Linked DNA regions of Homo sapiens: region 1 is linked to region 2. The links are contacts of gene promoters, found by promoter capture Hi-C in blood cells and fetal thymus (Javierre and others, 2016). All regions are on one chromosome and are shown on one strand. The core of a region is centred on a gene start or on the middle of the fragment in contact, and the rest is flanking DNA. Distances in the headings are between cores, read along the strand shown. Region 1 has its middle 49 kb from the start of ZNRF4. Region 2 holds the start of PTPRS (protein tyrosine phosphatase receptor type S).

Region 1 (4,695 bases), core at 1,926-4,425, 160 kb before region 2:
AGTAGAGATGGGGTTTCACCATATTGGCCAGGCTGGTCTCGAACTCCTGACCTCAGGTGATCCACTTGCCTCGGCCTCCCAAAGTGCTGGGATTACAGGCATGAGCCACCATGCCTGGCCCGAGCCATTTCTTTCTTTCTTTCTTTTATAGAGATGGCTTCTTGCTATGTTGCCATATAGAGTTGGAGGCCAGGGTGGTCTCCAACTCCTAACCTCAAGTGATCCTCCTACGTCAGCCTCCCAAAGTGCTGGTATTACAAGTGTGAGCCACTGTGTCCAGCCAAGAAGTCATTTCTTTAGGGCAGTGGCCTTGACCAGGGATGATTTTGCATGCTCTGGGGGCATCTGGCAATGTCTGCGGACATTTTTGGTTGTCATGACTTGGGGGGTGCTCCTGGCATGGAGTGGGTGAAGGCCAGGGGTGCTGCTCAGCACCCTGCAGTGCCCAGGATGGTCGCAGCCCAGAGAATGATTCAGCCTCAAATGCCCACAGTGGCAAAGATAGGAAACTCTGCCTTAGGGCAATTCATGAAAGGCAGTTTGGAGAACCCTGATCTCTTCCCCCATCTTCGCTTCTGAACCCTGTGTCCTGTTTATTCCAAAGTCCAGGGGGACAAGGCCCTCTGTGACAGTGCAGAGACTCTGGTGCGAGTCCTGGGCCTATTCATCCAGTAGATATTGAGCACTTACTGTATATCAAGCACCATTCTAGGTATTGGGGATCCAGCCACCAATAAGATGGACAAAACACCTGCCCTCATGTGGTTTAACTTCTAGTCAAGGTAGAGAGTTGAGCAGGTAGGTAAACCAAAGGTGGATTCAGAAGTCAGTGAAGGAGGCCGGGTGCAGTGGCTCACACCTGTAATCCCAGCACTTTGGGAGGCCGAGGTGGGTGGATCACTTGAGGTCAGGAGTTTGAGACCAGCGTGGCCAACATGGTGAAACCCCGTCTCTATTAAAAATACAAAACTTAGCTGGGCGTGGTGGCATGCATCTGTAGTCCCAGATGCTTGGGAGGCTGAGGCACGAGAATCACCTGAACCAGGAAGGTGGAGGTTGCAGTGAGCCAAGATTGCGTCACTGCACTCCAGCCTGAGTGACAGAGACTCTGTGTCTCAAAAAAAAAAAAAAAAAAAAAAAGAAGTTAATGAAGGGGATAAAACGGGGATTGGTTGGGGTGGGGCTGTGAGGATAGTGAAGTCTGCTCCAGCTGCCATCACTAAACAAAGATGCTCCTTAACTTACAATGGGGTCATTACCCAATAAACCCATCAAAAGTTGAAAATATCATAAGTCAAAATACGTTTTAGATTTACAATATTTTCAGCTTATAATGGGTTTACCTGGAAGCCACTTCATTGTCTTTTTTTTTTTTTGAGACAGAGTCTTGCTCTTGTCACCCAGGCGGGAGTACAATGGCACGATCTCAACTCACTACAACCTCCACCTCCTGGGTTCAAGCAATTCTCCTGCCTCAGCCTCCGGAGCAGCTGAGATTACAGGTGCGTGCCACCATGCCTGGCTAATTTTTGTATTTTTAGTAGAGACGGGGTTTCACCATGTTGGCCAGGCTGGTCTCGAACTCCTGACCTCATGATCTGCCCGCCTTGGCCTCCCAAAGTGCTGGGATTATAGGCGTGAGCCACCATGCCCAGCCTCCACCTCACTGCTACTTGACTTAGAGTAGCATACTAAATGTATATTGCTTTTGTCACCCTCAAAAAATAAAAAAATTATGTTGAACTACTGTAAATCAGGGACTGTCTGTACCACAGGCTGCGTGGCTTAAACAAAAGATCATTTTCTCACAGTTCTGGAGGCAGGGAAGTCCCAGAGCAAAGCGCCAGCCAATTTAGCTCCTGGTGAGGGCTCTCTTCCTGACTTGCAGATGGCCACCTTCTTGCTGTGTTCTCATATGGCAGAAACAGAGCAAACTCTCTGGTGTCTCTTCTTGTAAGGGCACTAATCCCATCATGAGCCTTCCTTCAATTACCATCCCATAGTTGGGGAGGGGTGTTAGGGTTTTAATTTATGAATTTGGATGGGGGGGACACAAACATTTAGTCCATATCAAGGGAGCTTCTCTGAGGAAGTGGGATTGGAACTGAGGCCGGTGGCTTAAAAGAGTCTTGACAAATGTTACTATGGAGCTTCTGGTCATAAATAATAATGATGGTTATACTAACTTGCATTCAGAATACTCTTTGAGCCAGACCCAAGAGATTGTCTCTTTGATTTTCATTTATCAGATGAGAAAACTGAGATTCTGGGATGAGCAAGCAAAGAGAAAGGAGCTCAATGTCTCACCCTGCAGGACATGAGGAACTGGAACAACTTTGCCTGGAAAGGGCATGCAGAATACCCACCCAGCTCTGCCCCAATTTACTGGGCAAAGTAGGCCAGGTGAGGAGGAAGGGAAGGGTTCTCTGGACAAAGGAGGAGGCTGTGTGGGTAAAGTCCTGAAGGTGGGGAGAGGCTGGTGTGCAGGAGCAAATCTCTGCCTTTCTTTTCCAGCTAATTTGGTGGAATTGAATTCTTAGACCATGTATTATCTCCTCTGGGAATGCTTCTTGGAGGGCTATGGGCAGAGGAGGGACAGGATCTGACTCAGGTGCTCACAGGTGCCCCTGGTGGCTGCTGAGAGGAGGATAGACTGTGGGGGGTGAAGTCGGGAGCTGGGCACCAGGGAAGAGGGGACTGTGTGGTTCCAGGCAAGTGACGATGAGATGTCAGACCAGGGTGAAGGCAGAGGAAGAGAGAGGAGTGGCCAGATTCTGGATAGGTTTTGAAGGCAGACAGGACAGGATTTGAGGGATTAGATATCAGGTAGGTGATAAAAGATGAGTAAAGAATATAGGGCCAGGTCACATATGGAAGCCAAAAGACTGTGGGTCTGCAACGCTGGGCTTCTCAGACTTCCCATTTATAAAATGGGGTCAATACCACCTGCCTCCCAGGTTTACAACCAACAACTGTTATGGGCCCAGCCTTGTTAAGCCCATGACTGTGGGAGTTTCTATGCTGAGGTGTCCCTGACTTCCTAGTGATCATAAGCAATTTCAAGCTTCATCTACTACAAACCAAGGCAGGGATGGTGTTTAGCTGGAAGATAGACGGTGTGTGTGTGTGAGCAGCCTCTTCTGGTGAAAGGTGACATTGCAACCTTGCTCTATTAGACATGGCAAATAACAGACAAGAGGAGGGAAAAGGTGAAATTTGGAAGTTCCTGAGATAAAGAATAACTTATTTGATTTTCTGGACTTTGGAGGGATATGGGGAAGCTTGGAGCTGGGGAAATGCTATGTAATAGGCAGAAGGGAAGAGAAGTTGAAGGCAGAAATTCTAAGATTCACATGGAGGACGCCATGTGAAGATTAAAGTTATGCCACCTCAAGCCAAGGAACTAGCAGAAGCCAGCAGAAAAACACGGAATGGATCCTTCCCTAGAGCCTTTGGAGGGAGCATGGCCCTGCTTACATGTAGGTCTTGAATTTCTGGCCTATAGAACTATGAGGAAATAGGCCAAGCATGGTGGCTCACGCCTGTAATCCCAGCACTTTGGGAAGCCGAGTGGGTGAATCACGAGGTCAGGAGTTCAAGACCAGCCTGGCCAGTATGGTGAAACTCCATCTCTACTAAAAATACAAAAACAAAAAATTAGCTGGGCGTGGTGGTGGGCACCTGTATTCCCAGCTACTCAGGAGGCTGAGTCAGGAGAATCGCTTGAACCCGGGAGGTGGAGGTTGCAGTGAGCCGAGATTGTGCCACTGCACTCCAGCCTGGGCAACAGAGCACGACTTCATCTCAAACAAACAACAAAAACCCCAAAACTATGAGGAAATACATTTCTGTTGTTTGAGCCACTCACTTCGTGGTATTTTGTTTTGGTAGCCCCAGCAAAATCATACACCTGTCTTTTTTTTTTTTTTTTTTTTTGTATTAATTTGAGACAGGGTCTCACTCTGTTGCCCAGGCTGGGGTGTAGTGGTGTGATTATGGCTCACTGCAGCCTCAACCTCCTGGGTTCAGGTGATCCTCCCACCTCAGCTTCCCAAGTATCTAGAACTACAGGTATGCATCATGCCCAGCTATTTTTAAAAATTATTTTTGTAAAGATGGAGTCTCCCTATGTTGCCCAGGATGGTTTCAAACCCCTGGCTTCCAGTGATCCTCCTGTCCCAGCCTCCCAAAGTGCTGGGATTAAAGGTGTAAATCACTGCACCCCACCAATAGCTGCCGTTTGAAGTGAGGTGTGGCTTCATGACTTGCTTTGGCCAATAAAATGTGAGTAGAAGTCATGTTAATCCCCTTCAGTAAAAGCCTTTAAAATCCAGTATCCCATTCTTCATATTCTTTCCCCTCTCTTAGAGACCACTGATGTTTCCTCCATCTGTCTCAATGCCTGAGTGAGGCAGACACAGAGGCCCCCTGCCAACCTGTATTGGGCATATAGTGTGGATGACAAATAAACCTTGGTTGTTTTAGAGCCACTAAGATTTAGGAGCTTGTTCCAGTTACTGTGGTTGTATAAATTACCTGAAAAATTAGTGGCTTAAAATAATAATTTATTACCTCTCATGGTTTTATGGGACAGGAATTTGGGAGCAGCTTAGCTGGGCAATTCTGACTCCGAAGTTCTTACAAGGTTGCAGTCAAGATGTTGACTGGGGCTGTATCATCTGAAGGCTTGACTGG
Region 2 (4,698 bases), core at 657-3,156:
TGCTTTCGACATGATCAAAACACAAGGACTGATGTGCAATCTTGCTTGGTGGCTGTGAGCCCTCCAACCCCCTTACCTTTGTCAATATCCCCCTTTTATTTACTTCCGCTCTGTTTTTTTTCCTTATTTTTGAGAGTCTCACTCTGTCGCCCAGGCTAGAGTGTGCAGTGGTGTGATATTGGTTCACTGCAACCTCCGCCTCCCGGGTTCAAGAGTTTCTCCTGCCTCAGCCTCCCAACTAGCTGAGACTACAGGCACCTGCCACCACGCTCGGCTAATTTTTGTATTTTTAGTAGAGATGGGGTTTCGCCATGTCGGCCAGCCTGGTCTCGAACTCCTGACAAGTGATCTGCCCACCTTGGCTTCCCAAAGTGCTGGGATTACAGGCATGAGTCACCGGGCCCGGCCTCTTTTCTCTTATTATTCCATCTTCAGGCACCAATGGCAGCCAGGCTGCCACATTATAGCAATTCATCATCACACCCTCCTTAGGAGCAGGGGCTACCTTGCCCCATTTTACAGATGAGAGCTGAGATCCAGAGGCAAATCCATTCTACAGATGGGGAAAGTGAGGCTCCGGGCCTCACACAGCAAATCAGTGTTTTAGCTGGGTTCCAACTGTGGCTCGTCCTGACTCCAGGGAAGCAGGGGATGGTAATTAGGTGAGACCTGTGTAAAGTGCTTACTCTATAAGAAGTGCTCCATCATCCATTCATTCATGTGTTCAACCTACAATAGGGATCTCTGGAGCCACACTGTAGTGTAACTAGAATAAAAACGGGATAATGGGACCAGGCGCGGTGGCTCACGCCTGTAATCCCAGCACTTTGGGAGGCCGAGGTGGACGGATCACTGAGGTCAGGAGTTCAAGACCAGCCTGGCCAACATGGTGAAACACTGTCTCTAACAAAAATACAAAAATTAGCCAGGCGTGGTGACAGCACGCCTGTAATTCCAGCTACTCCGGAGGCTGAGACAGGAGAATAGCTTGAATCCAGGAGGCGGAGGTTACAGTGAGCCGCGATCACGCCACTGCATTCCAGCCTGGGCGACAGAGTGAGACTCCGACTCAAAACCAAACAAACAACAACAACAACAACAAACCGGGATAATGGGATAGAGTGGAGTGGGGCGTGGCTGGTAGCTGTTGTCAGGGAGGGCTTCTCCCAGGCGCTGCTTATTTGAGCAGAAATTGGAAAGATGAGAAGGGGAAGTTCTTGGATGCTCAAGTTAGAGGAACTGTAAGAAGCTGGCTGAGGCGGGAGGATCACCCGAGCCCAACTACTCAGGAGGCTGAGGCGGGAGGATCACCTGAGCCCAGGAGTTTGAAGCTGCAGTGAGCTATGATCATACCACTGTACTGAGGCCCAGGTGGCAGACCCCATCTCTGAAAAAGCAAAGAAGGAGCAGCTGGTTTTTCTGGATCATTGACATGGTGGGGGGGAGGGGACAGGGTAGTGGGCGCTAATGTGAAACGGCGAGCTGCAGAGAGGAGGCGGGATTTTATTCCAAGGGTACTGGGGAGCCGTGGCACAGTTTAGGGCAGCGCACAGAAAGTGCCATGCCCTTTGCACCCAGGACGCTGGGGCTCCCGCACGGACAGTAGCCCCAGGGGCCCTTCCCGCCGCCGCCGCAGCCGCCACCACCACCACCACCCCAGCCGCCCACGTGTCCCGCGAAGCCCCGCGCCCCACGTGCTCCCGCGGCCCTTTAAACACCCCGGAGCCACGTGACCGCGCTGCGCCGTCCCATTGGCCGGGGGGCGTGGCGGCCGCGCGGCTGCGCAGTGACGCGCACGGGCCGGCCCTGCCCCCGACCCGGCGGCGGCGGCGGCGGCGCTGGCGGAAGGGATGACGTCACCGGCTGGGGGGGCGCGCGAGCGGGAGCTAGGGGAGCGCGAGCCGCAGTGAGTGTCCTCGCGCCGCCCGCCCGGCAGCCCGGCCGGCGCGCGCACGCCGCGAGCCGCTGGCGCTCGGGCTCCGCTCGGATCCCATGCAACAGCCACGATGTGAAGCGGGGCAGAGCCGGGGGAGCCCAGCCCAGCCAGCCTCCAGGTAAAGCCAAAAAAAAAAATAAAATCATGGATTAGAGGAAAAAAAAATGCAGGCGCTCCAAGGGGGGTCTCGGAGGCAGCCGAGTGGGCAGCGCGCCGGCTTTGTGCCGGGGAAGCCTGCACGGCCATTGTGCTCGGAGGATGCTCGGCTGCAGCCAGTTGCACGCCCAGCCGCTGCGCCCCGGTAGCTGCGCCCGGACAATGCCCCGAGGGACAGGGCCGGGGCCGCGCTGGGGGCGCTCGGCAGGGGGTGCTGGGGGGGCTTCGTCCGCGGCGTGGGAGGGGGCTGGGCTGGAAGCGCCCAGAGCGCGGCATTGGAAGCTGCCCAGCGCCGCCGGCTGCACCACCCCGGGCTGCGGGCGGGGCAGAGGCGCGGAGGGGGGCGCGCGTGTGTGCGGAGCCGGTGCCGGCCCCGGCGGCGCCCGGCCCGGGTCCCCGGGCGGGTCCTGGAGGCAGGGGGCGCTGTGCCGGGGGATGGGGGGCATGCGGGCGCCCCGGAGCGGAGAGGAGCCGGGACGGGTGGCTCCAGGCGGGGTGGCTCCAGGGCTGCTGCGCCCGCCGCCTTCCCTCTCCGGGTCTCCCTCCCCTGGAGACCCCCTAGTCTACGCCGTCTCCCCTGGAACACTCCGGGCCCTGTCGTTGCCTTATGGGAGGTCGCCCCTCCGGCACTCGGGCATTGCCCCACCCTTCTGCGGCCTCGGCGCCCCCTTCCAGCCTCCCCACCCAGGGGCGAGCCTCAGCCCCCAGCCCCAGGGGCTCTGGCAGGCAGACGCGCACGCCCAGCACCCCAGTCTCCCCTCCGCGCTGGGGGCCCCGTGGGGATCCCGAGAGTGGGGAAGCCGCCCCTGGAACCGCCAGCCCCGCGGGTTCCGCACGCCCCGGGAGCCCCCGGGGGCTGCGGGGGGAGGGGAGGTGACGTCATACCGGGGGCGGGGCCGTCGGCACTGGGTTAAAGGGGGCGCGGGGCGTGCCCTGAGGGGAGCCCCCCAGGTTAGAGTGCCCGCGCCGTGGGTGCGAGGGTTCGGCCAGGTTGCGGCCAAGTTCACCTCTCTTTATGGGAATCTCTCCTAAAATTAAGATCCTCCCCTTCGGACCTCCCCCTACAAATCCTGGACATTTCCCACCAATTCCCCCCCTTCCCAAATTGGGGAACTCCCCTTCGGCCGCTTTCTCTCCAGAATCCTCAAATCAGGGAACCTTTCCCACAAACTGGGAATCTTTTTTTCAGCCACACCCCCCGCCCCAAATCTGGGACCTCCTTCTTCGGTTGACCCTCTTTCCCCAGTCTCAAATCGTCTTCTCGTCTCCCTAAATATGCAGCTTCCAAGAACGCCCCTTCCTCTGCAACCCTTCCTCAAATCCAGCCACCTCCTGGGACCTCATTCCCCCAAATTAACAAACCTCCCAGAGCCTCATTGGGGGTGCCTTGCCTCCCCCTTCTGGGCTCAGCTGGGATTCCCCTGTCCCCCCCCGTCACAATCTAGGGGAGCCCCCTTCTGAGCATGGGGTCCTCCTGCCTCTGGCCGAGACCCTAAAAACACATCCCGGCAGCCGCGGCTAGTGAAGCGGGTGTCCGAGGTGTCGGAGTCCCGGCTGAGCAGCAGGGATGATACCTAGAAGCCGGAGGAGGCAGGAAGAGACCCCTAGGGTCCCAAGGACAGGGACCCACACGCTCCGGGCTCCCGTCCGCCACCACCCGGACTTTGGCTGCTGGGATTCTGGCCTCCTCTGGGTGGCCCCCTATCGCTGCTGTCCTTGGGGTGCAGAGGGTGACGGCGCCTCTTTGTCTGGGGCGCCCTTCTTCCCTCTTTCTGCCGCCTTTCGCCCGGGAGAAGGAAGCCATCCCGCTCCTCTGCTCCTGCGATACCAGCGGCAGCTGCTGGAGCGTTTATTAATGGCCCAGGGACTTGGTCGAATCTGCCATTTGCATAAGTCCCCTCCCCCTCCCAGGGTCCCTTCCTTTGTGCCCCCCTCCCCCTGCCAATCGCGCCTGCCTTCTGTCCCTCTGCTCTTCTTTCTTTGCCAGCTGATATTTTGGCGGTGGAAGGCAGGCAGCTGGGGCTGGGGGCGGCTGCTTCCCGCCCTCAAATCCCACAGCCCCCCAGCTTGGGCCTGACTGAGTCCCCACCTGGGCATCCCTCCCCTACCCCCCCGCTGCCCTCCACAAAGCCTTCCGTGGGGCATCTCTTTCTGGCTGGCAGGCTGGCGGAGTCTTCATTATTTCCCTCCGGGAAGCAGGGTCCTGCCCTGTTCCCCAGGCCCGGGGGACACCCTCATCATGACGGTGCACTTCTGCATGGGGGCTAGGCCTCCCAGCCCCCTGGGGGCCACCGCCCGCCATACTCCATCATCCTGAGAGTTGTTCTAATTGGGCTCAGGCAAACAAAACGTCGCAGGAGACCCAGGCTGCCTGGTGAGCTCACGCACTTTTCTATTTCTGCCACCCTGGCCGATGACATTGCCCCTAACCCCCCAGGGGGTGACAGAGACTGGTACTGTCAGTGGCCGTCCAGAGATGCCGTCCCAAGAGGCGGTGGACTGGCCCGCTCCCCACTCCCCGCGGGAGATGGGTGACAGGTCATTTTGGCGTGGCCCGGCTGAGGCGCTGGAGGGTGCTACTGGTTGGCAGGTCAGCTCCGGGGACG

The links. The method cuts DNA at HindIII sites, captures the fragments that hold promoters and counts their contacts. A CHiCAGO score of 5 or more calls a contact.
Region 1: a fragment that was not itself captured here is called in contact with the fragment with the promoter of PTPRS in region 2 in 3 of 17 cell types (M1 macrophages, M0 macrophages and total CD8 T cells); the score reaches 8.8 in M1 macrophages.

What each region holds. Positions count from the first base shown.
Region 1 is chr19:5,502,251-5,506,945 of GRCh38, reverse strand. No RefSeq gene overlaps it. Among named protein-coding and RNA genes, the nearest start is that of ZNRF4, 49 kb to the right of the region's middle. The HindIII fragment of the contact is 217 bases long and covers 3,067-3,283 here.
Region 2 is chr19:5,338,020-5,342,717 of GRCh38, reverse strand. PTPRS (protein tyrosine phosphatase receptor type S) reads left to right here and starts at 1,906. Exons shown (of 38, transcript NM_002850.4): 1 at 1,906-2,054. It overlaps LOC105372252 (a long non-coding RNA gene), which reads right to left. Exons shown (of 5, transcript XR_936279.3): 5 at 4,652-4,698. RefSeq lists a silencer at 1,699-1,978 and an enhancer at 3,845-4,518. The HindIII fragment of the contact is 5,182 bases long and covers 1-4,698 here.